7 separate regions of the Homo sapiens genome follow, and regions 2, 3, 4, 5, 6 and 7 are each linked to region 1. The links are contacts of gene promoters, found by promoter capture Hi-C in blood cells and fetal thymus (Javierre and others, 2016). All regions are on one chromosome and are shown on one strand. Each heading gives the region's core, a stretch centred on a gene start or on the middle of the fragment in contact. The rest is flanking DNA. Distances are from core to core; before and after follow the strand shown. Region 1 holds the start of PYCR2 (pyrroline-5-carboxylate reductase 2). Region 2 overlaps LBR (lamin B receptor). Region 3 overlaps LINC02765 (long intergenic non-protein coding RNA 2765). Region 4 overlaps ENAH (ENAH actin regulator). Region 5 overlaps ENAH (ENAH actin regulator). Region 6 overlaps ENAH (ENAH actin regulator). Region 7 overlaps ENAH (ENAH actin regulator).

The links. The method cuts DNA at HindIII sites, captures the fragments that hold promoters and counts their contacts. A CHiCAGO score of 5 or more calls a contact.
Region 2: a contact is called between a fragment that was not itself captured here and the fragment with the promoter of PYCR2 in region 1, in 6 of 17 cell types (naive CD8 T cells, neutrophils, total CD4 T cells and 3 more). The highest score is 9.0, in naive CD8 T cells.
Region 3: a contact is called between a fragment that was not itself captured here and the fragment with the promoter of PYCR2 in region 1, in 12 of 17 cell types (naive B cells, naive CD8 T cells, total B cells and 9 more). The highest score is 8.6, in naive B cells.
Region 4: a fragment that was not itself captured here is called in contact with the fragment with the promoter of PYCR2 in region 1 in 6 of 17 cell types (neutrophils, naive CD8 T cells, total CD8 T cells and 3 more); the score reaches 7.8 in neutrophils.
Region 5: a fragment that was not itself captured here is called in contact with the fragment with the promoter of PYCR2 in region 1 in 13 of 17 cell types (total CD8 T cells, total CD4 T cells, total B cells and 10 more); the score reaches 12.3 in total CD8 T cells.
Region 6: a fragment that was not itself captured here is called in contact with the fragment with the promoter of PYCR2 in region 1 in 12 of 17 cell types (total CD8 T cells, total B cells, naive CD8 T cells and 9 more); the score reaches 15.1 in total CD8 T cells.
Region 7: a contact is called between a fragment that was not itself captured here and the fragment with the promoter of PYCR2 in region 1, in 1 of 17 cell types (naive CD8 T cells). The highest score is 7.0, in naive CD8 T cells.

The regions. Positions count from the first base shown.
Region 1 is chr1:225,921,961-225,926,384 of GRCh38, reverse strand. It overlaps PYCR2 (pyrroline-5-carboxylate reductase 2), which reads left to right and starts at 2,135. Exons shown (of 7, transcript NM_013328.4): 1 at 2,135-2,341; 2 at 2,614-2,684; 3 at 4,002-4,181; 4 at 4,306-4,424. The coding sequence starts at 2,275. MIR6741 (microRNA 6741) reads left to right here and starts at 4,243; the gene lies at 4,243-4,305. RefSeq lists silencers at 1,789-1,868, 2,009-2,098, 2,409-2,538 and an enhancer at 1,589-2,238. The HindIII fragment of the contact is 26,114 bases long and covers 1-3,792 here.
Region 2 is chr1:225,419,856-225,424,279 of GRCh38, reverse strand. LBR (lamin B receptor) reads left to right here. Exons shown (of 14, transcript NM_002296.4): 2 at 191-369; 3 at 2,003-2,203. The coding sequence starts at 205. Among named protein-coding and RNA genes, the nearest start is that of LBR, 6.0 kb to the left of the region's middle. The HindIII fragment of the contact is 1,082 bases long and covers 2,634-3,715 here.
Region 3 is chr1:225,446,288-225,450,711 of GRCh38, reverse strand. It overlaps LINC02765 (long intergenic non-protein coding RNA 2765), which reads left to right. Exons shown (of 3, transcript NR_187303.1): 3 at 2,127-2,708. Among named protein-coding and RNA genes, the nearest start is that of LINC02765, 19 kb to the left of the region's middle. RefSeq lists enhancers at 2,880-3,439, 3,440-4,000, 4,001-4,424. The HindIII fragment of the contact is 3,451 bases long and covers 846-4,296 here.
Region 4 is chr1:225,492,109-225,496,532 of GRCh38, reverse strand. It overlaps ENAH (ENAH actin regulator), which reads left to right. Exons shown (of 14, transcript NM_018212.6): 14 at 1-4,424. Among named protein-coding and RNA genes, the nearest start is that of LINC02765, 27 kb to the right of the region's middle. The HindIII fragment of the contact is 3,735 bases long and covers 758-4,424 here.
Region 5 is chr1:225,511,412-225,515,835 of GRCh38, reverse strand. ENAH (ENAH actin regulator) reads left to right here. Exons shown (of 14, transcript NM_018212.6): 7 at 936-1,240; 8 at 2,820-2,965; 9 at 3,122-3,179; 10 at 3,977-4,025. Among named protein-coding and RNA genes, the nearest start is that of LINC02765, 46 kb to the right of the region's middle. The HindIII fragment of the contact is 516 bases long and covers 2,179-2,694 here.
Region 6 is chr1:225,528,974-225,533,397 of GRCh38, reverse strand. ENAH (ENAH actin regulator) reads left to right here. Exons shown (of 14, transcript NM_018212.6): 4 at 2,760-2,844. Among named protein-coding and RNA genes, the nearest start is that of LINC02765, 63 kb to the right of the region's middle. The HindIII fragment of the contact is 169 bases long and covers 2,454-2,622 here.
Region 7 is chr1:225,570,185-225,574,608 of GRCh38, reverse strand. The region is part of intron 1 of ENAH (ENAH actin regulator); the gene reads left to right. Among named protein-coding and RNA genes, the nearest start is that of ENAH, 81 kb to the left of the region's middle. The HindIII fragment of the contact is 4,198 bases long and covers 1-3,574 here.

The DNA of each region.
Region 1 (4,424 bases), core at 886-3,385:
TCCCAGGTACTCGGAAGGCTGAGACAGGAGAATCGCTTGAACCCGGGAGATGGAGGTTGCAGTGAGCCGAGATCATGCCACTTCACTCCAGCCTGGGTAACAAAGACTCCGTCTCAAAAATAAATAAATAAATAAAAATAAGAAATAATAATAAATTGATGTTTTATGAGGACAGGAACTTGTCTGTTTTGTTCATAGCTATACTCCCAGAACCTGGCTCAGTAAGTTATCTATTATATAAATCAATAAACCTAACATTGACCTTTGAATGGTTAAATCAGTAAGGTACATACATATAATAAGTAGTCATTAAAACTGTCTTAAATAACTTTTCAGTGACATTGGAAAATGCTCATGTCTACTAGAGAAATTTCAAAACTACATGTACATCATTTATTTCCAATGATGGAGAAAGTAGATATGCATAGGACATGATAGTGTAAGGAAATACACCAAAAATGTTTGTAAGAAACTATCTTTGGGAAGTATGATGTGGATGATTTTATTTTTACTTTTATCTCCAAACTTTCTTCAATATGTCTGTATTACTTTTCGAATTTAAAAAATACAGAGGCCAGGTGCTGTGGCTCACGCCTGTAATCCCAGCACTTTGGGAGGCTGAGACAGGCAGATCACCTCAGGTCGGGAGTTCAAGATCAGCCTGACCAACATGGAGAAACCCTGTCTCTACTAAAAATACAAAAAATTAGCCGGGCGTGGTGGCGCATGCCTGTAATCCCAGCTACTCAGGAGGCTGAAGCAGGAGAATCGCTTGAACCCGGGAGGTGGAGGTTGCAGTGAGCCGAGATCGTGCCATTGCACTCCAGCCTGGGCAACAAGAGCGAAACTCTGTCTCAATAAATAAATAAATAAATAAATAAATAAAACATAGCATTATTTTGCTTAATAGTAAATATTATATTTGGTCCTCACTTTAAAGGGTGCACAAACTGAGGGCCTGGGGACTTGCTCAGGGAAGTTCACAGAAAGCAGCCCCTTGCCTGGGAGTGGGGGTGTGCATTACACGGAAAGGACTAGAAAAGCTAGCAGAGAGACCATGGGAACTAAGGGTCCTCAGCTCTTCTGAGTCCTCTAGGAACGCCACCTTCTTCCTCTCTACTTCTGTCATTTGTTCCCTGCGGCCCCTTATATTTACTACTGATAGAAAAGGAAACATCACATTGGTGGAGCTTTTAAAAGCAAGAGACAGGTCGGGCGCGGTGGCTCACGCTTATAATCCCAGCACTTTGGGAGGCCGAGGCGGGCGGATAACCTGATGTCAGGAGTTGAAGACCAGCCTGAACAACATGGTGAAACCCCGTCTCTACTAAAAATACAAAAATTATCCGGTCGTGGTAGCGGGCGCCTGTAATCCCAGCTACTGGGGAGGCTGAGGCAGGAGAATCGCTTGAACCCGGGAGGCGGAGATTGCAGTGAGCCGAGATCGTGCCACTGCACTCCATCCTGGGCAACAAGAGTGAAACTCCGTCTCAAAAAAAAAAAGGCAAGTGACAGCAAGGGGCTGGGGGGTGCGGGATCGCGGAAGAGTCGGAGACTCGAACTTGTCCTTCTTGTATCTAGTTTGGACAAATTCGCGAGAAACACTCAAGTTCAAGTGAATAAGCCGCGGCTGACCACCCTGGTGCCGCCTCGCCGCCACCTGGTCTGAACCTCGCCGCCACCTGGTCTGAACCTACGCCAGGAGGGCCTCGTTCATCCCCGCAAATCGGCAACCTGGAGAATTCCTGTGGGCCTTGAGGGGCATCTGATGGCCAGCGCCAGAAATAATATTAGCCAGGCCTGGGCCAGGCCTCAGCCCTGAGCCCGAGGTGGCTTAGGGACGGCGACCTCAGCCTTGGGGTGGGGGGGGGGGGTGGGGGCGGCCGGGCGTCCTGGGCCGGCGGGCGCCTGGAGCTCACGCCAAGCTGCCACAGGGGCTTCCGGGACTCCAGCCCGGAGTTCCGCCCTCCAGTCGCGAGCGGAGGAGGCGGGCACGCGGCCTGGCTCGGGCCGCGGATTGGCCTGCCCCGAGATCCTGGCCACTGATTGGTCGCCCGGACGGGGCGGGGCCACGTGGCCTAAGGCGCCATCAGCCGCCCGGGAGATATCCGCCGGGGGAGAATAGGGTTGCACCATCCCAGAAGCTGCTGTTAGCTCGCCGGTCCTCGGCACGCCGCCCGTTCGCCCCTGCGCTGTCCGCCCTTCCCCTAGCGTTACTTCCGGTCCCTCGCTGAGGGGGTTCGTGCGGCTCCCAGGAGGCGTGAACCGCGGACCATGAGCGTGGGCTTCATCGGGGCCGGCCAGCTGGCCTATGCTCTGGCGCGGGGCTTCACGGCCGCAGGCAAGCGCGTGGAGGCGGGAGGCGGCTTCGCGGGCGGTCCCGAGGCCCGAGGGGGCCTCCGTCCCACCAGCATGAGCGAATGAAAGGGGAGTTTGCGTCCGGTGGGGTAGATGAGACTCTGGTTGAGCAGCAAGTGCGTCTTCTGTCCTCGTAGAGGGTTGAGGGGGAGAGGGAGACTGGCACTGTTAGGACGGCTCTGGGTTTTAGAGCCAGGGAAAGCGTGGTAACGGGCTGGGCCGCGACCCCTAGTTGAAAAGCTCTGTCTTCTGCAGGCATCCTGTCGGCTCACAAGATAATAGCCAGCTCCCCAGAAATGAACCTGCCCACGGTGTCCGCGCTCAGGGTAGGTGGAGCCGGGCGGAGTGGGAAGCGGGTGGAGGCCCAGGAAAAGGATGACCTGAGATGAAGTGAGTCTGGCCGGCCCCTGCGCCCAAGTGCTGGTCTTTGGCCGGCGGTGACCTTTACTCCAGGAACGTGACAATCTTTCCACCTTCTCTTGGGCAGCTCAATGTGGTGGGAACACCCAGGGAGACATAACTGGGGGTCAGATCCAGACACTGGAGTGGTAGAGGATTAACTGAGGTGATTATGTGATGAAAGCACCTGGCACATAGTAGGTACCTAATAAATACTCATTTTTTAAATTTTTTTTCAGACAGGGTCTTACTCTGTCGCCCAAGCTGGAGTGCAGTGGCGCGATCTCAGCTCACTGTAACCTCCGCCTCCCACCTCAGCCTCCCACCTCAGCCTCCCGAGTAGCTGGAATTACAGGCATCCACCACGCGCAGCTAATTTTTGTATTTTTGGTAGAGAATACTGTTGGCCAGGCTGGTCTCGAACTCCTGGCCTCAAGTGATCTGCCCGCCTTGGCCTCCCAAAGTGCTGGGATTACAGGGGTGAGCCACTGCGCTCAGCCATTTTTCTTAATAGACGAGTTGTATGACCTTAAAGTACTCAGCCACTTTGAGGCTATTTCCTCATTTACAACAGTGGCCACTTTGCTGTTATTCTGAGTCGTGAATGAGCATATTGGGAAGAATCTGGTGAGTTAGTTGTTCTGTTCTCCAAAAACATATTCCAAGTCTTCACCCAAAACCTGTGCTCTGTGGGAGAGGATGGCTGATGAGGCAGGTGACAGGCAGTGTCTGTGCCTAGGGTGGGCTGATGTCCCTAGCACTGGAGGGTCCTGCTTCTCAGTTTGGAGTCATAGAGGGATGGATGGCTTCCAGCCTAGCCCTGGACCACATGGAGACTGTGCGGTCCCCACGAACAAGCGGCCAGGGTTAGGATAGGGCCTGACTCAGCTGTGCTTTTAACGACCAGGTATTAGCATTTCCCTTTGCCCTGCCACTTTCACCATAGGGCCTTCTTACCTGGCAGAGGAGTGCCTTAGATACCAGAAGATTGGCAGGGAAGAAGGGCAGCCACTTCCTGGTTACCATGGAGAAGCTTGTCATGCTCCAAGCCTGTGCTTACTTGTCCAGTAGCAACAATGGGAAACTGTATTATTTGGGGTAGGGGTAGAACCCTGAGGGCATAAAGCTAAGAATTCCAGGCTGCATCTGGCAGAATCGGTTTGGCAGGGGTTCAGCTGCTCCCTGGGAGGCCTTGGCATAGCCAGGCTGCTCCAGCACTGTGAGCTGGGAGTCTCCTCTTGCAGAAGATGGGTGTGAACCTGACACGCAGCAACAAGGAGACGGTGAAGCACAGCGACGTCCTGTTTCTGGCTGTGAAGCCACATATCATCCCCTTCATCCTGGATGAGATTGGGGCCGACGTGCAAGCCAGACACATCGTGGTCTCCTGTGCGGCTGGTGTCACCATCAGCTCTGTGGAGAAGGTGCCCATCTCAGCCCTGATGCCCCTTGTGTGAGGGGAGGGTTGACCCACGAATGGCAGCTAATGGGTGGGTGCTGGTGGGAGCCGTGCCCTGGCCACTCATTCGGCTCTCTCCCTCACCCTAGAAGCTGATGGCATTCCAGCCAGCCCCCAAAGTGATTCGCTGCATGACCAACACACCTGTGGTAGTGCAGGAAGGCGCTACAGTGTACGCCACGGGCACCCATGCCCTGGTGGAGGATGG
Region 2 (4,424 bases), core at 1,925-4,424, 500 kb after region 1:
CACATAGATAACGCAGTGGCTAAATCATCCTCTCAAATGATTCCAAATGAGATTGAATGTAGCCTTTCTGGCCCTAAAATCCTGACCAGTCAATTCTGGAAAGTTGTATTTTAGTGATCAGCCTGTGGAAAAAGACGAATACATAAATGTGTATGTATTGACTCAAATTTTTTTCTTTAAAACTATTCAGGTTAATTATAGAAAATGCCAAGTAGGAAATTTGCCGATGGTGAAGTGGTAAGAGGTCGATGGCCTGGGAGTTCACTTTATTATGAAGTAGAAATTCTGAGCCACGACAGCACCTCCCAGCTTTACACTGTGAAGTATAAAGATGGAACAGAGCTTGAATTGAAAGAGAATGATATTAAGGTAAGAGCTCCTTTGGTTTATCAGAGTGTGTTTACAGTAAGTGGGAAATAACTCTAAGTATGGTTTCTAAGCTCAGGATAGTCAGTTCAGCTCGGTTTGAAGGCAGAGGATTGAGCTCTTGCTTTGGGTCACATACTGTTTTTGGCTCTGGGAATGTATGAATGAGGCATAGTCCTTGTTCCCAAGAAGCTCACACTTACTGGGAAAGACAGCCATTTGCATCTGTTGGTCCCCTGGGTTTACTACGTTCTGTGTCTGGAGTTTGCTGTGGGTGGTGTTGAGTGTATCAAGGGTAGAGAAGAGCCCTGGGCTTCAGGGGAGGCTTTCAGAGGCAGTGACACCTAGCCAAGTGCTGAGAACAAACAGGAAAAACAGCAGTTGATGGGGCTGTTTCTGCAGAGAGGGCAGTATGCCAAAGTCAGGGGTCTGGGGGACACAGTCAGCCAAGTGCTGGAAGGGGGTGGTAGGGGAGGGCTAAGCAGGAGCCAGGCTGGGGGGGCTTTTATATTCCATGCCCAAGGGTTTGGGCTTCATCCTGAACACCAAGGATTTAATCAGGAGAGTGACATTAATTAGATTCGAGTCTAGCCCAGGGCTTTTCAACCTGTCTGGTGAGGGCCTGGGTTTTAAGATATCTGATCCGTAGTATACAAACATTTATATAAAATGCCATAAAAATGAGTTACTAGAAAAATAAAGACATACACAATAGACGACTCACAGTTTTACTATCAGATTCGATAGATATGAGATTACTTTGTCAAAATGCTATAAACATTTCCATACACCTATTTCTCAATTTTGGTACTTGCACAGATTAGTAACGAGCATTTCTAGGACCCATGGCTGAGGATGACACTTCGAGTGCTCTAGACCAGGAATAAAGCACAGAAAGTAAATATTTTAGACTTTATGGGAGCGGCTCCAGGCAGTATGGAAGGGAGCAGACATGGCAGTGTTCCAGTACAACTTTATGGACAGTGAAATTTGAATTTTGGATAATTTTCACACTTCAGGAAATACTGTTCTTTTGATTTTGTTTGTAATCATTTAAGAATGTAAAAGCCATTCTTAGTAGGAAGGCCACACAAAAATTGGGGTGAGGGACTTGGCCTGGGGCGTAATTTGTCTACATCCCTAGAAGCAACATAAGGAGATTCGGAGTAGGTGGGGACACAGTGAAACAGTTCCCAGTCATCCAAGCTCATGTTTTATTTTCAAGATCTGCTTATGTGTTTTGTTCAGAGTGAAACTGTGGTACTGTTTTTTTTTTTTTGGTCTGTGTGCTTATTTATTTTGTCCTGTCGTCTCAGTTTTAATCCATGTTAATTATTACCCTTCTTGCATATGGTGTTGGAAATAAGTACAGCTAATTGGTTTAGATACATTCGTTTCATGGAAATACCTTCAAAGAACAGGAATGGAAAGGCTGCATTTGTCTCATGAAAGATGGATCATTATGAAAGCATTTTCCATTGGCTTCATCTGATCCATTCTCAGATCCTAACATTTCCCGTGCTGATTTTAGAGTTAATGGTAGCAGTTCCTGCCTTTGTTATCCTCTTCTAGTGTGGGTCTGTCTGTATGTGTTATGATTTGTGGTAAAGCTCTTTGCCTTCTTCCCCCTTTCTAGCCTTTAACTTCCTTTAGGCAAAGGAAAGGTGGCTCAACTTCCAGTTCCCCTTCCAGACGCCGAGGGAGTCGATCAAGGTCACGCTCCCGATCCCCTGGTCGACCACCTAAAAGTGCCCGCCGATCTGCTTCTGCTTCCCACCAGGCCGACATTAAGGAAGCAAGGAGGGAAGTGGAAGTTAAATTGACTCCGCTGATTCTGGTACTTGTGTTTATCCTTATACAGCCTTTTGTCTTCCGCTTTATGTATATATTTACTCAAGTTACTTGCAGTTAATAATATTAAAATGTCACTGAAACATCAAATCTAAGTTGATGACTTTGGGAGTTTTCATATAAAACAAATGTTTGGAATAGAAAGTTTTAAATATCAATGGAAAAGAATGTCCTTCAGTTACCAGAAATGCTATTTAATATTTTAGTTTTTAAAAAAGCAGCGTTCAAATTTGAAATAGATGTAGCTTGTAGATTGAACTGCGTAAGGTTTTTACAGTGTATAAAAGTTCATATCATGTATGAAATGGTAAGACAAACCTGTATTACGGAAACATTCTTACTCTTAGCATCATTATACTTTATCACTTTACCTATTCAAAGATGATTTTAGTGGAATTACTTTCAAGATGTAAGCTTTGAAATATCAGGGTGCATGGAGCCTGTAGATCTTGTACAAATAGTATTTTAGATAGTAGACCAAAGACAAAGTATGTTAAGTAAAAAGAATAAAAGTAATCTTCTATTCACTTAATGTTAACCTCTTTTCTGGATAGAAGGCACACAGACTTTGAGACAGAGTCTTGCTCTGTCACCCAGGCTGGAGCGCAGTGGCGCAATCTCAGCTCACTGCAAGCTCCGCCTCCTGGGTTCACGCCATTCTCCTGCCTCAGCCTACCGAGTAGCTGGGACTACAGGCGCCCACCACCATGCCTGGCTGATTTTTTGTATTTTTAGTAGAGACAGGGTTTCACCGTGTTAGCCAGGATGGTCTCGATTTCCTGACCTCGTGATCCACCCGCCTCGGCCTCCCAAAGTGCTGGGATTACAGGCGTGAGCCACTGCGCCCGGCAACAGACTTTTAATAAACTTTAAAAACTGGATTATATACATACTGCTCAGTAGTCAGCTTTAAGACATTTTAAAATATTGGGATAACCTTTCAGAGTGTATTTTTCTACATCATTTTTGTTGTTGTATTCTATAGTATGGATATATGGTAAATTGTATACATGTAACTTAATCGTTAAAGTCAGCTCTGTCAATGATAGACATTTAGTGTTTTTCCTTCCATATTTTCACTATTACAAACAAGTATTTTTATGTAACATCTGATTATTTCCTTAGGATGGATTCTTACAAGTGGAACTGCTAGGTCAGCTGTATGGTGCAGATTTGAGGCTTTTAATACATATTGCCAGATTGCATCAAGAAAGTTTATAGTAGTATCAGTGTATGAATGCTCAGTTTCTCATTCTGAGTATTATAATTTTTTTTTTTTTTTTTGGAGAATGTGGCTGTCAGACATTTTCAACTTACTGTTCTAACTTATATTTTGAATTAGAACATTTTAACTATTAGTGGCTCTCTTTACCACCCCGGGACTCCAGGAACAGATGCTGTGTGATACTTTGTTATCCTTTCATTTTTAATATTTAGTGACTGCTATATTTTTACAGTGTAATCTTACAGTCCTGGTGTCACAAGAACCACAGAAGCTTTGCCTCTTACCTGGTAGTGCCTTGGGCCTACTGTGTGTTGCATAAGTACCCACTATTTCTTAGTTTTCCATTATGGGCTATTTTGGAGCAGTGAATGTCTTTTTGAATGTCTTTTGTTTTTTATCCAGTTAATGAACTAATTTACCAATTTTTACTTTCTCTGCCTTTCATAGTAAATACCCCTAAAATCTATCAATGAAATTATGACATTCAGTCTGATTACGTGAAAGATCAAAGTTGTTTTTTTTTTTTTTGAGGCGGAGTTTCATTCTTGTTGCCCAGGCTGGAGTGCAATGGCGCGGTCTTGGCTCAATGCAACCTCCGTCTCCGGGTTCAAGAGATTTTCCTGCCTCAGCTTCCGAAGTAGCTGGAATTACAGGTGCCCGCTACCGTGCGTGGCTAATTTTTTTGTATTTTTAGTAGAGACAGGGTTTCACCATGTTGGCCAGGCTGGTCTTGAACTCCTGACCTCAGGTGATCCACCCGCCTTGGCCTCCCAAAGTGCTGGGATTACAGGTGTGAGCCACCGTGCCTGGCCAGATGAAAGATTTTATGTAGAAATCTATCCAATATTTCAGAGACTGGGAAATTCTAGTCAGTTTTATTCCTTTTCATTTTTAACAAAATGAGGGTTAAATTCGTCAGAATTAAGGCTGTGAAAAATCTGTTTTATTGCTTGATTCCAAAACAGTAAGTTTTTACCATCAT
Region 3 (4,424 bases), core at 1,322-3,821, 480 kb after region 1:
TTACACGGGCCACTGTGACCTTCCCCTTGACAGGAAGCCCCAGGGCTGCGACAGCAGGACGATGAGCTGGCAGAGCTTCGCACAGGCTGCCTGGAAACTGGCACAGCTGCATTCATCAGAAGAAACAGTTGCAGCCGGGTGTGGTGGCTCACGCCTGTAATCCCAACCCTTTGGGAGGCCGAGGCCGGCAGATCACTTGAAGTCAGGAGTTCAAGACCAGCCTGGCCAACATGGTGAAACCCCATCTTTACTAAAAATACAAAAAAATTAGCCGGGTGTGGTGGTGCTCGCCTGTAGTCCCAGCTACTCGGGAGGCTGAGGCAGGAGGACTGCTTGAACCTGGGAGGTGGAGGTTGCAATGAGCTGTGATCGCGCAATTGCACTCCAGCCTGGGCAACAGAGCGAGACTCTGTCTCAAAAAAAAAAAAAAAAAAAAAAAGAAGAAGAAACAGTGGCTGATGCTTATACATATTTTATTTATCTCACAGTGTGGTACAATGTCATAGCCCTAGATAACTGGAAAAGACGCCCCCTGGAATTCTGGAGAATCATGAGAAATGTGTCAGGAGCTTGTTCTGCCTTGGAGGGGGTCTGGAGGTGTGAGGCATAGGGGCTGCCCCTGGGTAACCTGGATCATCAGCTGCTGCGGGGCATGGCCTGCACCATCCTGCCTCCCCAACTTGGCTCTCTCTGTGTCCCCTGCCACGTCAACCTTCCCATCTTTTCTACTGTCTTCTAAAATCCTGCCCATACTCCAAGGCCCTTCTGGAATGCCACCTCCTCCTGTCACCCTTGCTTGCTAATCCCTGACACGTGACCTCTGTTGCTCCTTTGCCATCAAAGCTTGGCAGTGGTCGAGGGAGGCAGTGCTCTCCAATGAGCAGAGCACAGGCTTCCCTTCCAGGCGGCAGAGACCTGGCTCTGCCATCTTCCCACTGTGCGACTGTGGGCATGTCACCTGACCTATTTGAATCTGATTGTCCTCATCTGTAAAATGGGAATAACACTCTCTACCTCGACATTGCAGGGTCCAGAGAGAGGGAGGGGCCGGGTAGAGGAGACCAAATCAACCGCTTGCAGACTCCTGTGCTCTATCATGGAAGGTTCCTAGGGGCTCCTCCTCTGCCCCAGGTGCTCCTCAGGGGCCAGGAGGACAGAGCAGAGGCAGGTCTGGGCAAGAAGGGTGTGACCGCGCTGAGATATGCACCCGTATAGTTGGCAGTCGGCGCCTGCCTTTCCTTGTTCCCAACCCACTCTAGAGTTCAGGCTCCGGGAGAGCAAGGATGGGTTCTGACTCATCCTGTAAGCTCGACGGGTGAATGCCCAGCCTAGGAGGTGGCATAGAGGATACAGGTGGCCCTATGATTGAATTGAGGTAGTGAAGAGTGGGAATTTTTTTTTTTTCAATAACAAATTGTGGCTGGGTGCAATGGCTCATGCCTGTAATCCCAGCACTTTAGGAGGCCGAGGTGGGTGGATCACTTGAGATCAGGAGTTCGAGACCAGCCTGACCAACACGGCGAAACCCCATCTCTCCTAAAAATACAAAAATTAGCTAGTTGTGGTGGCACACGTCTGTAGTCCCAACTACTTGGGAGGCTGAGGCAGGAGAATCACTTGAACTTGGAAGGCGGAGGTTGCAGTGAGCTGAGATGGCGCCACTGACCTTCAGCCTGGGCGACAGAGCAAGACTCCGTCTCAGAAAAACAAAACAAAACAAAAAAAAGAAACCCAAAATTGTGTTAAGCTGAGATCCAAGCAAATAGAGAGGCTGAAAAGAACACAGTTATGTGGGGTTTTCCCCAAGCACAGCTCCTCAATCTCAGCTTTCCACCCTTTGCTGGGTCCTTCCCTCATTCAGCTTTATGGGAGTCTTTATAGAATTCCTACTCTGAAGGTGGCGCCTGGGTCACCAAGTAAGACACAGAATTTGCCCTTGGGGTGCAGAAATAGTGGGTACCCAAGGCAGGATGCCCCAGGCACCATGAGGACATCCAGACAGGGGGGTCAGCAGCCTGGGACTCAATGAGAGGGAGGCGCTGAAACCCAGAGGCCACCCCAAAGTTCAGACCCTGAGAGGGTTAACTTTTGCCCACCCCCACCAAGCCGGACTCTTTTCTCACCAGAGTGGACACAACCTGAAAACCAACTGGACTGAGCATCCTTCTCCTAAAATCTCAGCCAGAAGCCACGATGGAGGGTCCTGGGAAGGGAAGAGATGTGAAGATTTCTGTGATTCTAAAACCTTGGGTCTGCCTGCAAACTTCTCTCTGATCCCAGCCGAGAGCTGTGCACACGCTAGCTAGCCCTGTCACACAATAGCCCAGTGTTCCCGTCACAGTGCCTGGGAATGAGAGGCTTTTGAGGCCACAGAGCTATGACAAGTCCCCAGGTTGAATTGACTCTGGGAGGACAAATTTCTGAGAGACTCACGGGACCCTTATCCAGGACAACCTCACAAAGATCCCTGAAACTGAGCTTCCTCTGCTTCGTGCATAGTTTGAGGTATAAACTTTCCTTGTGTCTCGGTCAGATGAAGTGAAGGATGAATATTATCCCAGGCTAAAGTAACGAAAAGTCCAGAAGCCAGCGATGACAGAGATGTGTGTGGAAGAAGGCTGTGAGCATTTCCATCAAACCCTGTGAGTTTCCGAAGATCTTATCCCGAAGATATGTGTTTGGCCAATAAAACACTGAATAAAAATCCATCATGTTTCCAGAGCCAAGTCGACTTCTGCTGGGCTGGGGTGAGGCAGAGGCAGAATCAGACCTTATAAAGATGTTTTGAATAGCGGCTGTTCTGGGATCGCAGCCCAGTGACAGTGAATGCTTTCTGAGTTCTCGGATGAGAAGGAACAGAGTGACAGACTGACCATAACTGGCCACTGTGGTGTGTGCTCAGCTCCAGACCAGCACCTTATTTGGTGGGGGGAGAGGGTTCAAGGCCCCAGCGAGACAGTGAGTCCTGGTAGGGAAGGAACTCTGGCCAAGCTGCAGGCTGTGCAGTGGAGTGGGTTAGGAGGGGCCCTCGGGGAGGGAAGAACAAGGAGAGAGGGAAGTGAGAGGAAAGGAGGTTTCTCCTTCATCTAAATCCCAAGTATACACCCTTCTAAGGTCTGTTCTGGCCCTTCCCTAGGGAGTGCCTTCCCCTCTACCTGCCAGGTCCCATAGATAAGGATGTCCTCCCCTGCAGGCGCCTGGCCTCCATCACAGCATGCCCACTCTGTGCCCGCTGCAACCTCCTCTGACTCTCCCACTAGACCGGTGCCTGGTACACATGCTCCTGCGTGCATGAACATCGGTCAGCTATGGGTCCTCAAGATGACAAAACCCCCTGCTCCTGTGTCCTCACGGGGATCTGCACCAGCACTGGGCTGAACACTCTCCCTGCAATCTGTCAGTCACGTCTTCTGTAGCATTTTCTTTCTGGCAACAACGGTTGGGGTCATTAAAAGTGTCTTTGAAATGCAACCTTTTAATTACAGGAGGAATACTGCCCCTGGGAAGGGGCCTTTCTTCAAATGCTCCAGGAATTCCTTGGCCAATACACTCCAGGGGGAACACAGCCCAAAACGGGCCTGTGGCTGTGATCAGACCCAGGCATCCTGTCAAAACAGGAGCCTGGGAAGGGGAAGCTCAGGGAAGGAAAGGGGCTCCTCTTGGGAAGAGCAGGGGTGCTGGAGGAAGAAACCCACCCAGTCCCCTTTGGGCCTAACTTAAGATATGCTCACCGGCTCTCTAGCACGCAGTTTTCCCCAGGAGGTCCCTTGGCCATGACCCAAAGTTAGGAACTAGGGGTCTGCGGACGCCTCCTCCTCCCATATCAGAATATGCTCTCCACCGCCTGCACGGTGGCATTGGCTTTCTGGAGCTTTAGGGCCAGCAGGGGCAGCAACCATCTTCCCACGTGTCTCAGGCTGACTGCACACAGCTCCTCTCTTTGTTTTCAGAAGCCAAAAAGAGCCAGGCAGGCCAAAGCGGGAAAAGGGGGGGCTTCTAGGAAACACCTGGGGTGGCTGGGCAGAGGTGAGATGTGACCCTGGCTAGCCTGAGGGCTCCCTGTGGCTTTCGATGGCCAGCCTGTGATAAAGCCCTGAGAACTCCATCTCCTGTGATTTTCCTGGGGTACTGATTTTCCCCTCCCTGGGAGTCTAGGTGTTTGTTTATAATATCCAAGAATGCTAATTGAGATCAAAGTGACTCTGAAGTTCACCCTGGGGGTGCTGCAGTCTGAAAGGTGTTTTGCAAAGACACGATCTTGGTTAGCCCTTCCCTGGCGCTATGCTGCAGGAAGCTTCTCACAGGGAATAGTCCACACTGTAATCTACCTCAGGCAGGTGTGCTGCTGGGAAACTCAGTTAATGATGTCTAATCTTTAAGAGCCATGGGAAACTCAGGAAGACCTAGCTGGACAGATACTACTC
Region 4 (4,424 bases), core at 1,376-3,875, 430 kb after region 1:
TACCCCCGCTGTTACACAGGTGTTTAGATACGTGTTCCTGAATGAAGCTGCTTTTGAATTTTGTTATGTTGAAATGCAAGAAATAACAATGATGGCAGCAATTAAGGTCACAGAAATCATTAGGTAAAGGAAAACCAATGAGGAGTTCTGCAGTTTTCTTTTAATAAGTAAAGTGAGACTTGGGTGGTGGGAAGAAGGAAGGTGGGAAGAAGGAATTAGACACTCTGCCTGCCACTCTGCGTGTGTGTGCTCTCGCGCACGTGCTGTCTATATGGAAGCCACTCCCTTTTCTTTCCTTTGAAACTGGTAAGGTTAAAATAGGGGAGAAATCCTACATGTTGGAATGATAGCTTTTTGGAAAATTTAAGAAACTCTCCAGGCTCTCCATCTTGATTTATGCTTGAGTTGTTATGTGCCATATTTGCTTTGAACTCTGATTATCAGAAGTTTTACTAAAACTTTGAAATAATTCACTTTCATCTGCTTTCTAGATTTTGTACATCTCAGTCCATAAAGCAAAGCTTGTTGATAGTGTAGTTTTCTAAACGCTGCAAATTTGCAGCCTTTACCACTACAAAGAAGTTTGGATGAGGGATTTTTTTTTTCTTTGTCAAAATAGTTCCTGTTTCTGTAGAAATTTCATTTTTAGATTAAACTGTGATGGATGAGCTATCATAATTCAAGTATACATTTCTTTTTTCTATCAGATATTCATTGTCATGCAGTAGTAGTAAAAACATCAAAGATGCAGCAAGCTTATTAAGTATTATTTTCTAAAAGAAATAGGAGGCATTTTCATCTTTATTATTGTACTTTTGGTTATGCAAACACTTTGATAATATAAACAGTTATGTCCCCTATAAATCTGGTCAGCAACCTCTTTTGATTTTGTTGGGTAAGTTAAATAGTCTGTAGTAGGTAGAGTACTGGGTACAAGTGGTCCAAACTAAGATAAGAGACTAAAATAAAATGCTAAATCTTAAAAGAAACTGGGTTTATGCACTAAACGTTTTGTGCCTTGGTCTAATATTAACATGATGTATGTGTAAACTGACAAAAAAAAAAAAAAAAAAAAACCAGTGTTGAATCATGCTATATTTCCCATCATCCCAGATTGCTAAATGTTCTTTCCAAGAAGTCTGAATGAATTATTATATACATTTGCTATCATACATGACAGTTGTGTCATTATTAGAGATTTCAGTAATTAAAATGGGAAACAGAAGCCTAAGTTATTTACCTTATCAAAACCACGTTCCTTGGAACCACATTATTATGATGGTTTTTGTGCTCTTGTACGTTGGATGTCTTAAGCTGAGTACAGTTTAGGGGATCCTTTCTAATGACAGGAAGGCACTGCTTTCCTCAACACTGTGATCTGACCTGTGACAAGTCTGTACTATCCACTATGTAAATGGCTCACAAGTCAATTGCAAACAAACTGAATGTACAAATCTTAGTGCTGGTGCTGAAATCTCTTCAGAATAGTCATCATGATTTAAAAGTTTGTTTAAAAATTTGCAAGCATCAAGTGTCAATCAAAACTGAAGATGAAACACTAATGAATGTTGAATTCTCATGCTTTTAGGTGTACTTCCTTTTTAGAATTTTCAGTTTTCTGCTATTTTTACCGTAACTATTTCGTTTAAATTTGTTTCATTTAAGTTTCCTACACGCTAACTTCGTTTGTGCGATTGAAATAAAATTGCAGTATATATATGTTGCTTGTTTGTGACACTTAGATAATCTTCTGAAATAATTTGTTTTAAAGTAAGTTATATTGGATGTGAAAAACACCTTTTAAAGTCCAAGACTTTACTACTTAAAAGTTTACATGTCACGTCACTATTCTTTACAGATTTCATAGAAGTCGTGAATACTAAGTAATGTATACAAAAGAAATATGTGATGATGTGTCTACTTTTTGTTTGAAATAACTGTTGGGTGTTCCCTCTTCTTATTTTCTCTCTGCCCACCTTGACACAGTAACTTCCTCTTATAGTCAAGATGATGATTAAGTGTTTAATTTTTATTCCATTTTGTTCTGCAACACGTTCAGGTACTTAAAACTCATTCATGCAGTTAGAATTATCCTTTATGTAGTTTGCATGGTAAAGGACATTGTGTGGTAAAGGGCATTATTGAGTAATGAATTTTAAGTATAGCAAAATATGTATAGTGTTTATACATGATGCTGATTTCTTAAAACCTACATATAAGCAGTAGTACTTTTTCTCTATTATAAAGTATTAATTTTGAGTTCCATTTTATAATTCTGATGTCTTCATTAGAAATACAAAAATACAATCCTTGTATTTTTTCTTTGACCAGACCCAAATTTTCCCCTTCCCCCCTCCATTCTCCTCTCCACTTCTCGTGGACCGCGTGTTCCCAATATTCATTAACATTTGCAGCCATTACAGAGTTACAGTTGTAAAATTTTCAGCTGTTTTTTTTTTTTTTTTTTTGCTCTAGCCTGTCTCATGTTCTTGCTTCTCTTCATATGTAAGTCAGTATTTTTGTCTACAAATTAAAAGTCACTTGTCATTCAAAAATGAGTTAAGTAACATGATAATCTTTTAAATTTACCTAGCTACAACTTTTATGTCTCTTGTAAATTTATATATACTTTCAGTGCCATTGTGAAGAATTGGCCTTTTAATTCTAAGTAGTATTACCCTATGAAGCACAGTGTGCAAAGGTATGCTACAAGGTCTCTTTAATTCCTGTGTGGCCATTATAATTTTATAACACCATTACCCTTTAAATTCTACCGATTATAAGCAGCGTAAAAGTAACTATATAAAGCAAACATCGCAAAGGAACTCTGCAGGAGCTCTTAATTCCTTTATGTAGCTATCATAAAATTCACTTTCCTGAAGACATTTACTCTCATTCACTTCCAAACTCCAAACCTTTTTCTGGTAGCACCACTTTTGTTTTTAATAGAAAGATGAGTTCATATCTGTACATCTCTCCAAAGCTCTAAGGAATGAGAAAAGGATCCTAGTATATTGAAATTACTGATGTTTAATACCTCTGCCTTTTCACTAAAAGCCATTTAATATTTTTAAAGTCAAAACTTGACATACAGGTATTTATAAGGAATCTCCATGACTCTGAAGGAATGAAATTGATGTAGGTAGCTTTGGCTATGTAAAGACATAGTAGAGGACAATTACTTAAAGAAGAGTTTTCTTTTGAGGATTTGTAGATTTGACTAAGCAGCTGAAGTCAGTAACCCCTCAAGAAAGTCCGTTTATAGAAGCCAAGAACTGTTGGAGGTCTGTGATGCAGGTTTTTCTGTTCCCAACATCAAAAGCTGTGGATTATTTGGTGTGTTCCCCTTTATGTTATCTCTCGATAATTTTTGAGACATCAAGATTTTTTAAAATATCAATACTGGAAAGATGAAACCTTCAAATTAAAACCTAAAATTGATTAGAAAGAAAAGTAAAATATTAATGCAGTAAATTTAGGATGGTTACAGATACTCACCATCAACATAAATAAATGGAGTTCTAGGATAAATTATTTGTGGAATACTAATGGTCAAGTCACATAAGAGTAAAATCTTTTGGTGAGGAGACACATTTGACAACTGCTAAAGAATTAACTAAATTTGTCTTTCTAAATAGTTTTCTTTATAAAGTAACAGAAACATTGTAAAAGGATAAATGACTGTCATAATGACTTAGGATGTTGTAAGAATGTCTGCCACATTTATTGGTTATTTCTGTTGAAATCTGAAGGAATCGATACATCTGAAAATTGAGAAAGGGAAATAGGACTGTCCCCGTTACAGATACTCTGTGATGCACACAACCTTCTAAACGGAAGTGTTAGTATCATTTAAAGCACATAGTAGGCCTTGAGTATTTGCAGATTAACATGCAGAAAAAATCAAAGATGAAGCCCCAATTAAGTGTTTGAACCAAAGAATCACAGTCACTGAGCTGCACCCCCGTTCTGTGAAGCATGTTAAATACTCATAAAGAGCAGAGAGCAGGGCCCGTAGACGCTTCTGGTGTAGGACACAGGAATTCTAGGCAGAGGGAGAAAATTAGGGGCCCCAGTTGGTGGCTGAGAGTAAAAAGAATATACCATTTGAGTAGTGCTGTTCTTTTTCCTCAGTTTTTAAAGACATATAATTCCTAGTAGTTAGGACATCTAAATAGCTCGGTAAACTGGTCAGAGGCGGGAGGATTGCTTGAGGCCAGAAGTTTTGAGATCAGCCTGGGTAACAGGGAGACTCATTTCTACAAAAAAATTTAAAAATTTAGGCCAGGCATGGTGGTGCACACCTGTAATCCCAGCTACTCAGGAGACTGAAGCGGGAGGATCACCTGAGCCCAGGGAGGACGCGGCTGCAGTGAGCCGTTATCATGCCACTGTACTCCAGCCTGGGTGACAGAGCGAGAACC
Region 5 (4,424 bases), core at 1,187-3,686, 410 kb after region 1:
TAACAACCCCTACAGAAGGGACAGACTATTTCTAGATGCTTCTTTTAACAATTGATGTTTTCTGCTTGTGTAACTGCTCAAGCTGAAAAAGTTAGCAATTACCACCCAGTGTGCAAAATAGCATTTTATTCGTTCTGAAAACACCCCTCTTAAACCTTAACTAAAAGAGCACCTACTGTTTCAGGATTCTGTTATTAAATAAATTCTTGTTCACTCCCTTTGTGATTTTATAACATTTGAACATTTCTCTTCTTGCCCCCCATTTTGTGGGATAAAAACAACTCTACTTCAAATCCTATGGTATTTAATTATTTCCGAGCGTTATTTTGAGGTTTTACTTTGTACTAGTAAATTCCTTTACTTCAGTGATTCTCAGCCTTGGCTATCCATTGAATTTAAATGTGAAGTATTTTTTAAAATGCTGAAGCTGGGACTTACTCCTCCTTCATGTTTTTAATACAGCCACTTTGACTGTAAACAATTAAATGTATGTGTTCACTGTTACTGAATTTACTGTCTCAACACTTAAGGTTAATGTGGATTATTTTGGGTCTGATATTTCAAGTAGTACTAACTGCCATCCTATATACTAGTTTGTTTTTTCAGGGACGCTTACCTCTCTTCCAAATTTTATAAGTATTTATTTTGCTTATTTACCAAATCCCCATGAAAAAAAAAAGTCTTAATTAGATGATCTGTTGCATAGTTCTATTACTAAAGCTCTAACCTAAAGTAAGTAGTTATATATACTTGGACCTTACATTTCAGTATCTTTCAAAAACTGATCTAGACTTTTACAACTATGATAAATTGGACTCATTAAGTAAATACATGAGTCAGTTTAATTTAGCATGGCATTCTGCGTACCTTCCCACATAAAATAATATCACTCAGCTCTATTGTTGATGGTCTTACTTAACATTTCTCTCTCTCAGGCATTGTCTTGGGACCACTTGCACCTCCACCTCCTCCACCACTCCCACCAGGGCCTGCACAGGCTTCAGTAGCCCTCCCTCCTCCCCCAGGGCCCCCTCCACCTCCTCCACTCCCATCCACCGGGCCTCCACCGCCCCCTCCTCCCCCTCCTCTCCCTAATCAAGTACCCCCTCCTCCTCCACCACCTCCTGCCCCACCCCTCCCTGCATCTGGATTCTTTTTGGCATCCATGTCAGAAGACAATCGCCCTTTAACTGGACTTGCAGCTGCAATTGCCGGAGCAAAACTTAGGAAAGTGTCACGGGTAAATACCTTTCTGAAAAATTTTTTTAATATGTCTTATTCTTCCTAAATATCTAAAATGTTGAATTTATTGTATTCTAATTTTATGAAATGTTATGAACTTCATTGATTTAAAAAATTGAAATAATTTACCCTGGCGCAATGGCTCATACCTGTATAATCCCTGCACTTTGGGAGGCTGGGGTGGGCGGATCACCTGAGGTCAGGAGTTCGAGACCAGGCTGGCCAACATGTTAAAACCCTATCTCACTAAAAATACAAAACTTAGCCAGATGTGTGACACATGCCTATAATCCCAGCTGCTCGGGAGGCTGAGGCAGAAGAATCGCTTGAACCCGGGAGGTGGAGGTTGCAGTGAGCCGAGATCATGCCACTGCGCTCTAGCCTGGGTGACAGAGTAAGACTTTGTCTCAAAAAATAAAATAAATAAAAATTAAAAATTGACATAATTTAAATTTTTATAGTGAAGTTGTAAGAATAGTATAAATAATTTCTATAAATTCATCACCTACATTCACCCATTAACATTTTACCAGTATTTGCTTTTTTATTCCTTCTTTGGATATGTTTCCTTCTTTACACATGCACTTTTTTTGTTTTTTCTCTTGAGACGGAGTTTCACTCTTGTTATCCAGACTGGAGTGCCATGGCGCGATCTCAGCTCACTGCAACCTCCACCTCCCAGGTTCAAGCGATTTTGCCTCAGCCTCCTGAGTAGCTGGGATTACAGGCACCCACCACCATGCTTAGCTAATTTTTGTATTTTTAGTAGAGATAGGGTTTCGCGATGTTGACCAGACTGGTCTTGAAATCCTGACCTCAGGTGATCCACCCGCCTCAGCCTCCCACAGTGCCGGGATTACAGGTGTGAGCCATCGCACCCGGCCTACACATGCACTTTTGTTTGAATGATTTGAGAGTAACTCAGAGACACAAGCTTCTATTTTCCTAAGTACCTCAGTGTGAATTTTATAAGAACAAGGACATTTACCTGCATAACCAGTAATATAATTATCAAAATCAGGAAAGTTAACATGATAGAATACTGTAATCTACAAATGTATTATTCAAATTTCATCTATAGTCCAATGACATCTTTAGTGACAGTTTTTTTCCTAGTGCAAGATCATTTATTGCATTTAGTTATAATGTCTCTTTGATATACTTTATGACAGTTCCTCAATCTTTCATAATACTGGCATTTTTGAAGACTGTAGGACAATTATTTTGCCTGTTATCCTTCACTTTGGCTTATCTGATTTTTCCTCAAGATTAGATTCTAGTTATGCAGGGGTTGTTTTAGCAGGAATATTATCAGAGCAAAGTCATGCCCTTTTCATGGCAGCACAGGAAGAGATACATGATACTGTTTCATTGCATTCTTGGTGATAGTAGTTTTGATAAACTCTTGTTGATATATAAAGTCATGCTAAGAATCTATTGGTTCTTAAAGCTTAAAAAATAATATTTAGGTTTTTTAAAATTAATGCTGATGTTTCCTTCTGTTTTAGATGTAATATATTAATAAAAATATGGTTGTCTAACATAGGAGTTGATTATGTCTGTATATTCTCATTAAGATGGAGGATACCTCTTTCCCAAGTGGAGGGAATGCTATTGGTGTGAACTCCGCCTCATCTAAAACAGATACAGGCCGTGGAAATGGACCCCTTCCTTTAGGGGGTAGTGGTTTAATGGAAGAAATGAGTGCCCTGCTGGCCAGGAGGTAAGGAATTTCATTATAATGGACATGCCCAGAATTGAGAGGATTTTAATTGTATTCCAAATACAACTAACTAGATGCACTTCTTTCCTCGTAGAGAAGTGGTTTTTATACTGAATCAGATAATATTTTTAAAAATCGGATTTGCCTTCTTTGTAGGAGAAGAATTGCTGAAAAGGGATCAACAATAGAAACAGAACAAAAAGAGGACAAAGGTGTAAGTTAATAAAGATAGTCTACCATACCTTAAAATATGGAATTCAGGCACAGCTCATTCAGGAAATAGTGTCAGCATTTATTTAATTTGGGCTTAATTAGTTTGAACTTATATTTGCTAATTTTTAACTATGCATGTGAAGTGGCTTGTTTTGACTGTTATTTATAAATTTTTAATGGCAGTCTTAGTAAAGTGAGTTGAATATGTGAAATTATGGGAAAAGCATTGAAGTTCAAACCTGTGGAGTTTAATTCTGTTCCTTAAATGAGTGAATGACATTTCACTACTTTTTTCATCTCTTAGAATCTCAGTTCCCTTGCATTAATTTAAAAGGAAGGAATTCGCCTAAATTCATATGTTTCCCTTAGGAGCTTGATGGTTATTGGCTGTGCCCCTTCAGAGTGTAACCTTCATGCCCTCCTCCCTGATTCAGCTGGGCAAACTCTGCTTTGTCTGTGCTGTATATTGGTGTGCAACAAATAATATGTTCCCCCTGCTCCATCTGGCCACCTTAGATGCCATTCCTCAAATCTGTCTCTCGTGTCTGGCTTTGTAGCATTGGCTAGTGAAAGTTCTCAAGGAGAACACATGAGGAAAGGAGCTGTGGGGAGGGTTGAAGGGAAGATGGTTGAAGACAGGAGAAGAAAGTCTAAGCTGAAATGAAAGGGAGAGAAGACCGATGAAAGAGAAAGTGGGGAGTGGCAGAAAGAATATTAGAAGTGTTCGTGTAAAACACTAAATGTATATAGCAACAGGGGACTGGTAGATGTGATATTAATATATATCTGTATATTTAGGAAGATTCAGAGCCTGTAACTTCTAAGGCCTCTTCAACAAGTACACCTGGTAAGTTCAAGATAAATATTTTAACCTTTATAAACTTTCTCTAAATATTAATACTCCCCAGTTAAAAATTCCCCCTTTCCCCATATTTGGACCAAGTGACTGGACACTAAAATGCCAGAGTTCTTTGTTCCCACCTGAAAGCATTCACTTTTTTCCTCCTGGAAGCTGCTGTTACTTTCTTGAGGTTACTTACTAAAACAAGGAAAATATTAATGTACTATTAGATGACAAGAGTATTTTTCATAATTGTTTTTCTAGAGGTAAAAATAAAGTGAGCATGTTAGTTAGTACTACAGTCTGCTTCAGAACATTCTCAAATTGAGAAGGATGTCCTAGCCATTCATTTGGGTGATATTGATAATTAAGGGAATAAAGTTTCTGATTTGTAAACTTAAAAAG
Region 6 (4,424 bases), core at 1,289-3,788, 390 kb after region 1:
CCTATTTTGCATTTTATGAGAACACACTCATTTAGGAATGTGACCTGTGTAAAGTAATGTTTATATTCCTGAACATACAGCGGCAGCTGACAGACTTTGCCTGATCCTAGTTGCTGCTTCATGTCATGTGGGGTGCCTTTGGTATTACTTACCAATTTTATAGCCCATTAGAATGTTTGACAAGAAGGAAAAATGTAATTGTGTACCTTAAATTTATATTTACCTGGAACTTTTAATGTTTATAGTATGTTTGTATTAATTTTTAAATGCACATAAATTTCAATGTGCTAGTTACTGCAACCTGACAATTTGAAGAAGAAACAAACAGAACAACCAGATTAAATGTAGATGTGAAAAAGTGCCAAAGGGAGTGATTCCATGCACGGACACACACACACACCCAATTTAAAGGATGTCTGGAAAGACAAAAAGCCCAAAAATCCATTATCATCACAAAGAACCATGTAGAAAAGAATTGTTAAGAGTTGTTCTAGGATCAAAATTCTCCCCATTTTAAAAGGAACTTCCTTGAAGCTTTTCATCTCAGCTGCAGGAATAAACTGTAGTAAATTTTTTTTATAATTATGATAACAGCCACAAAATATTACCCACATTTTAAAAATCTCCTTTCTGAACAGATTTGCTTAGTAAGCTTTTAAAAAGCTTTAAAAAAATATTCCAAAGCAGGTTCTGTAAATTGCTAAAAGATTTTCTTTTCTCAGCTTTTGTGAGTTACATTAAACTTGTGTTAGTTTTTTAAAAACCTGTTAAATAAAATAAATAGGATTGAGTTGAAATTTTGACGTCTTTTTTGAATCTATATATTTGAATTAAAACTGAGATTTTAATTGGCAAATTTAATCCATTAATATTACCTTTGATATATAACACCTGTCCTAGGTGTGTGACTGGTATAATTGCATTCTTCTTTGAGGTAGATGCCAAACAGGTCTAACCTACTCACATTCAGCTGTTTCATTATTTAAGCAGCCTGAGGCTTTCAACTTAAATACTCAAGTAAACATTATTTTAAAAAATAGTTAAAACATAATGGTCTTGTGAGTTGCCCATGCTAAATGCTCACATTTAGTACTTTGGATATATAAAGTACATTCCCTAAATAATTTCATGCTACCTCAGATTTACCCGCCCCTCCCCACACTTGTGTGTCCCCAGAAGAGAGGTCTTTTCTCTGTAAAGTATTAAACATTTGTGTATAGCCTAATAGGAGAGTCTGTTTTTACATCATTATTTTAATTTCCCAAGAAAAGAATTCTAGTCTGTTTACTAGACAGCAATCATGTATTTTCATTTATACAAACATTTACGTGTGTATTTAATTTCAAAAGTTTTGTTTTTTTTTGTTATTGATTACATGGGATTAATTTTTTTTTATAATATTTATTTGGTTCTCAAAATAGCAGACTCTTAGGAAATCTAATGAAATATATCACTGCAGTTGTCATCAATTTGTCTTTAGAGGACAAATAAAGTGATTAATCTAAAAACATTTGTAAAGAGGTGAGAAAAAAAGTTAGTAGGTAAGTTCAGATCAAATTAATTCTGTTTTTCCACACTTGGGATACACCAGTACTGCATTACATCCTAATAAATCTTTACTTCCGGTTGTGAAATCTACTCCACTAGTATAAAATACTTTGCACAATTAGCCCATAGATTACAAGAATTTAGTGCACAGAAGCATTTATTTCGTAACTTATTTTCCTAAGTTGTCTACAAATCTTTCAGAATATCTGTTAGGAGCATTTGCTGGTACACTAGAATTCACAAATATATGTAGTGTGTCATTACTCATATATTCTTCTCCAAGAGTGGAAGATAACTACTGTTTCTTTACTTTCTTGTTTACTGGATTAGACTTTAAGATTGTTCTATTTTAACCCTAGGTATTATATATTAGGTCCAGTATTTATCTCATTTTGTGACAGATTTGATTTTTATATCCAATGACATTAAGATGTCCCATAATTCAGTGGCATTCTATCTAAGATGCAAAAAACAGGTCTGCATTGTACATGATATGTGGGAATGGATGGTCATTAGTGTCTCATGACAGAACCATGTTGTATGAATGCAAGTTTTTTTTTCTTCTTACCCTAAATGAAAACTTAAAATTACCTGTTACATTAAAAATTCAGTTCAGTAGGTTAATTACTATATGGAAGTTTAGCAAATGTTTGTTTTCACCAGTGCTGGAAATGCTAGGCTATTAGACAAAAATGGCAGCTTAAATTGGGCAAATTTGATAAATGCTTTAGCATACTGGAGTCTAGTAATAAGGTTCTCATGCTCTCTCTCTCTCCTGTTTTTCATTTCCAGTGTTCTATTTAGGTGAGTTTTTGAATTCTGATTTTTCATTTAAGTTCTCCCTCTCCACTTCATGAATAATTACCCCAAAGAGAATGTCTCATTGTCTTAGAAACTGTCAAGCTTAGGTGCCTCTTCAGATGCTCATCGAACACTTGTTTTACTCAAGCTCTTCATATATAAATGTTTCTTTTTCCTTATTGTTGATGTTTTCCATTTGTTTCAAGTAAGCCTTCTGGAGATGATGACAGTATTATGTTGCAGTCTTTCATTTGCTCTGTGTTATGTAAAGCTTATATTTTATTTTGCTAGACAAAAAGAAGACACGTTTGTAAATATGTGATGGTTTTATGTTATTCTCATGATTTTATCTCCTCTGTCCAGCTAGATATGAAAATAATGTTCATCTGTAATGTTTTCTCCCTCTGTAGGGCCAACATTGCCTAGACAAAACTCACAACTACCTGCTCAAGTTCAAAATGGCCCATCCCAAGAAGAATTGGAAATTCAAAGAAGGTAAATTTTCAAGTTATTGTTTGTACTTTTTCTTTATGCTTCAGAAGACAAAACTGAACATCCTGTGTTTAAAGTAGATTATGTCTTATCAGCTGTTTAAGAGTCACAACTTTTATTCTTACATTAGTAAGTTTTGTGACTGTCATTAGTAAGTTACCAGATACTTGTTATGCTGGACATGAGATGTTATAAAATTTCATATGTGTTTTTTTTTGTAAAAATTATACTTAAGGTATGTTTAAAATATTGTAAATACGCTTAACAGAATTCAAAATCTTCTTATGGTTCAAGAAGTCTTACTTTTGTAATTATAAAGTGATCTGTGAGTACTATGATTTTCATGTGACAAATTTAACTAAAAAGTTGAAATATTGTTGGCTGTTTCTGTAACACATTGATCTTCAGATATTACTATAGGGTTTAGTAGTAGAATACAAAATCATTCTCTACTGGGCAGCATTCTTCCATGACTAGGAGTTCTCTGAAAGTGGTCAGAGTACGTAGGCTGACAGGCTAACCTTTGGAGTACCAGGATGGTGAGCAGGCAGGCCTCAGAACCGCACAAACGCTGAGCTACTAAAAGTTCCACTGGAAGCCCCAACTCATCTGAGGCAGCTTGTTCAGTTTCTTTAGAGAACAGTCTTCTGTGGTAAATGCCATTCCATCCATTGAGCTGGGGTTGGGGAGGACAGGGGAGGAGCTGGTACAGCTGTTCTTCAGACAGTGTATATACTTATTAATCAGCTTGATTATTGTGGCACTGCTCATTCCCGTTCTCTCTACCTGCTGACCTCAGGTTAGATCTTTCCCAGATTCCTCTTCCCATGTCTGCTTTGACCGTCTTCAGTATGTGTTCTGGGTTATGGATGCCTCCACTGCTCCATTTATTTATGTCACAGGCATTTTTTGTTCTAAGTACTTATATTGGGAAGGGTGGGGAGAGTGGAGGGAACAAAAAGCCTGAAACTCATCAGACAATAAACATGACATGGTATAGTAGAAGATGGTAAGTGCTATGGGGAAAAATGCAACAGAGTAAGGAGGATTATATGTTGTGAAGGGGCAGAGGGAAGTGCTGGTTGTAATTTTATTTTATTTTTCCGTCCATTACTTATCAGTCTCAGTACTTGTGAGTTTAAATAGAGTGGTCAGGGTAGATCTCATTGAGATGAAAAGAAGGAATTAACCAAGCAGATACCTATGTAAGTGCATTCTGTGCAGAGGCCTTAAGGAAGGATGATGCTTGTGTGTACATGGGAAAACAAGGAGGCCGTGGAGGCTGGAGCACAAGAGAGTATTAGGAGTAGAGGTCAGATCATGCAGGACCTTGCAGGCTACTGTGAAGAATTTAACCTTTACTCTGAGAGAAAGGAGAACCATTGTACAGTTTTGAACATAGGCATGATCTGACTTAAAATTTTAGCAGAATCAGTCAGTCTGCTCTGTTGAGCCTACACTATTGAGAGACGACTTGAGGCAGGTGCAGTGTTGTGACAGCAGCTCAACAAGAAAGCCAGTTAAGAGGCTGTTGCAGTGAACTAGGCAGGAGATAATGGTGGCTTCCCCCAGGTGATAGAAGT
Region 7 (4,424 bases), core at 226-2,725, 350 kb after region 1:
TATTTTGGAGACAGAGTCTCACTTTGTCACCCAGGCTGGAGTGCAGTGGCGTACTGTTGGCTCACGGCAACCTCTGCCTCCCAGGTTCAAGCGAATCTCATGTCTCAGCCTCCCAAGTAGCTGGGACTACAGGCACGAGGCACCATGCCTGGCTAATTTTTGGTATTTTTAGTAGAGATGGGATTTTGCCATGTTGGCCAGGCTGGTCTCGAACTCCTGACCTCAGGTGATCCACTCACCTCAGCCTCTCAATGTGCTGGGATTACAGGTGTGAGCCACCGCGCCTGGCCCACAATCTTATATAACTGAGCTGGTCTCGCCCACTTTTACTATATGCCAGGACCTGTGTTATAAATGTGAACAATATTTGTGGAATCGAGTTGAAACCTAACACAATTGTGTTTACTCTGAGCCTCTTTAATCTTTGAAATGTCATAATATTGTAGACATAGCCCAATAAATTGATATCAGAGAATAAGATGGAAATCCTGAATTTAAAATTCCAAAGTTTTTAGTGTTATTTCTTAGTATTTTATCTTCTGAATAAATGACATCTTAGTTCATAGAATGACTCAGTATCATAACAGACGTGATGCTAATTCTCTTTCTTTAGGATATATTCTCTTAAGAGGCTGATAGTATAGTAGAGGTTATTGTGCACATGTTGATAACTCACTACAGACTAGGCTCTGTGCTGCACATAGGGGATTCAAGAAGGGATGACATATTTTCCATTTTCAAAGATGATGAAGACATGTTTCTGAATAAGTGAGTTGGGCCATGACTTTCAGTGGTGGTACATTTTAATACTTTACAGCATATCACATACTAACTGGGAGTATCATTAAAATGCTAGGTGCATCCATAATTTTTTTCCTCCTTTTGATTGCCTCCTCTTTTGCATCCTGTCTATCTACAGATCCTTTCTTCTGTACTTGCAACATACATCCCCAGTGCTTTCCTCTCCCTCCTTTTTTTCTCGTCTGGTATTTGTGCTTCTGTTCTTGATTTTGCTGCCACTTTCTTGAATTTTTTCTCTACATAGTAGCTACAGTTATCTTTAAAATGTAGGCCGTGTTCTGCTTAAAGCCCTTCAGTGGCTTCCCAGTATACACTTGGAGTAAAACTCAAGTCTTTCCCATGGCTTAAATATTGCCTCCTCAGAGAGTCTTGTTTGTTGAGAGATTAATGAATACTCTGAGAACTCGGAGGAAGGAGCAATTAGTTCTGGCTTTGGGAACCACAGAGAGAATTAATAAGAGGAATAGTATTTGATCCAGGTCTTGATGAGTAGGATTTTGTTAGATTACAGTAAGTGCTGAAAAAGCATTTAAAGAGTGCCTACTGTGTGCTACATATTGTCATATTCATGCTTTCTTTGACAAGTAATGATTAATAAGTGATATCTTTGAAAAGAAATTGATATTTGTTAACAACTTGGTTTTACTGCAATCTCAATAAATAGTATATACAAGACTAGCCTAGCAATCCTTAGTCTGCTTAAATACCAGGAAGCGCTTCATTCACTGGTACCTGTGAGAATAGAACTTGGCAAGCGTTCTCATCACATATACCTGCTCAGTCAATTTGACAATATTCAGAAATGAACTACCTGACAAAACTACAAAATTGTAATTTGGTGTCTTGGTTTTTAGACCTTTTTTCCCTTCTTTTAAACCAGCTATCTCTAGCCTTTTAATGCCATATTTTATTTTAAAATACCAAAATTAACATCAGAAGATGAAGTATAATTAACTATATATACCAATTGCACTGGGTCATAAAAATGAAGTTTTTGTTTATAACTAATTTAGTGCCTGATCTTCACAAAAGTACAGCTTGGTAATTTACTAATTTAATCTTTTGCGTAGTCGCTTCACTGACTCAGAATCTTGAAGACTTTGACTGGGCATTCATTTTGAGGCTTGTCATGATGCAGATAGGATGGTAGTAAAATGATGCATTGCTCTAGTATTTGTTCACCAGTGTCCATGCAGCAATACTGTCTCTTGTGGCTGAGGCCAGCCATATTTTAAAGCAGGCCCTTGGCTAAGCATTTCACTGGACCAGGGAGAAACGGGGAGAAAACAAAATCTGCAGATAATAGAGGGAATTGTCTAGAAAGCTCAAGTTATTGCATTTAATGATTTGTCTTTGTTTTGAAATATTCCTATTTTTAGATTCCAGAAATATCATTTTAAATAAGTTATGTTTGTCCCCACCACCGCCCCATCGCATACCTGTCAAGTAGGGCAAAATATTGGCAGCCAGTTCTGTATTGATTTATCTAGTCTGCTTTTGATGTTCATGGCTCCATGAAGTCTAAAACTGCTTACCACCAATTTATTTTGTGCATCACACCTGTAATCGGAGTTAGTATGTGAGTAGCTTTTTTCCTTACTTCAACAGTCTCTTCTCGAGATTTCACCAGCTGGGTGTCCAATAATTCAGTTCACTCTGACACTGTGCAGAGTTAACGTAGACCCCATAGGTTAAGGGCTCAGTTCCATAAGGCTGCTCCTACTTCAGATACCAGCTGCAAATGGAGTGCCCAGGCTACCCACATCTGCTTAGCCAACTGCAAATACTGAGGTTCCTGAAACCACCCAACCCACATTTGATAATTTGCTAGAATGATTCCCAAAACTCAGGAAAGCGCTTCACTATTACCCATTTATTATAAAGGATATAATTTAGGAATAGCCAAATGGAAGAGAGGCATAGGGTAAGGTGTGAGGGTGCGGGGGTTGAGTCTTTTCCTGCCCTTTCCAAGTGCGACTCTCCCAGCACCTTCATATGTTGATCAACCTGGAAGCCCTCTGACCCTGTCATTCAGGGTTTTTATGGAAGTTTCATTACATAAGCATGATCGATGAAATCATTGGCCATTGTGATTGAACTCGATCTCTAGTCCGTCTCCCTTCCCCAGTTGTTGGCGGGGGGCAGTAATGAGGTGGGAAGTGTGGGCCTGAGTTCCAGCCTTCCAGTCATGCCATGATATTTCCGGCCACTTGGCCCCATCTGAAGCCATCTAGAAGCCCCTTCAGCCAAGAATCATCTCATTAGTATACCAAAGACACTTTGAGGAGCCCTGTACCCAGGACCCCAGGCCAAATACAGTTGACCCTTGAACAGTAGAGTTATAAAAGGTGAGTAGAGGGGTGGAGGAGGTTAGGGACTCTGGCCCCCAAGTGCAACTTTTCTTTTGTTTTTCTTTCTTTTTTTTCTTTTTTTTTGAGACAGAGTCTCACTCTGTCGCCCAGGCTGGAGTGTAGTGGCATGATCTCGGCTCACTGCAACCTCCATCTCCTGGGTTCAAGCGATTCTTGTGCTTCAGCCACTCGAGTAGCTGGGACCACAGGTGCACGTCACCATGCCTGGCTAATTTTTGTATCTTTAGTAGAGATGCAGTTTCACTATGTTGGCCAGGCTGGTCTCCTGACCTCAAATGATCTGCCTGCCTTGGCCTCCCAAAGTGCTGAGTTTACAGGCACGAGCCACTGTGCCTGGCCCAAGTGCAACTTTTGAATCCCCCATAACTTAACTAATAATAGTTTACTGTTGAGTAGAAGCTTTATAGATATCCATAAACAGTTGATCAACACGTTTTGTTATGTTATGTGTATTTTATACCATATTCTTTTTGAGACGGAGTTTCGCTCTTCTTGCCTAGGCTGGAGTGTCATGGCGCGATCTCAGCTCACCATAACCTCTGCCTCCCAGGTTCAAGCGATTCTCCTACCTCAGCCTCCCGAGTAGCTGGGATTACAGGTGCTCGCCACCAGACCTGGCTAATTTTTTTTTGCATTTTTAGTAGAGACAGGGTTTCTCCATGTTGGTCAGGCTGGTCTCCCAACTCCTCACCTTAGGTGATCTGCCCGCCTCGGCCTCCCAAAGTGCTAGGATTACAGGTGTGAGCCACCACGCCTGGCCCATATTCTTAATCTAGAGAAAAGAAAATGTTATTTAAAAAAACATTAAAAAATCACAAGAAGGAGAAAATATATTTACTATTCATGAAATGGACATGGATCATTATAGAGATCTTCATCCTTGTCTTCATGTTGAGCAGGCTGAGGAGGGGCAGGAAAGAGGAGGGCTTGGCCTTGCTGTCTTAGGAAGGGTAAGGTGGGAGAGGAGAAGGAGGTGGAAGGGGAGGCAGGCACAGTTTTTCCAGTGTAACACTGGAAAAAATACTGAAAAACACTGGAAAAAAAAAATCCATGTATAAGTGGACCTGCGCAGTTCCCATGTTGTTCAATGGTCAGCGTACATGGCAGGATGTCTCTAGTGAGAAGAGGTCCTCAGATGCTGTGGAAAGGAATAAGAGGACTGAGTTGCATTTGTCGCTAAACCCTAGCAGGCAGTGCCATCCTTTCCTGGCTGGGCCTTGATGGGGGCTTCTCTGAGTGCCTAATGTATTT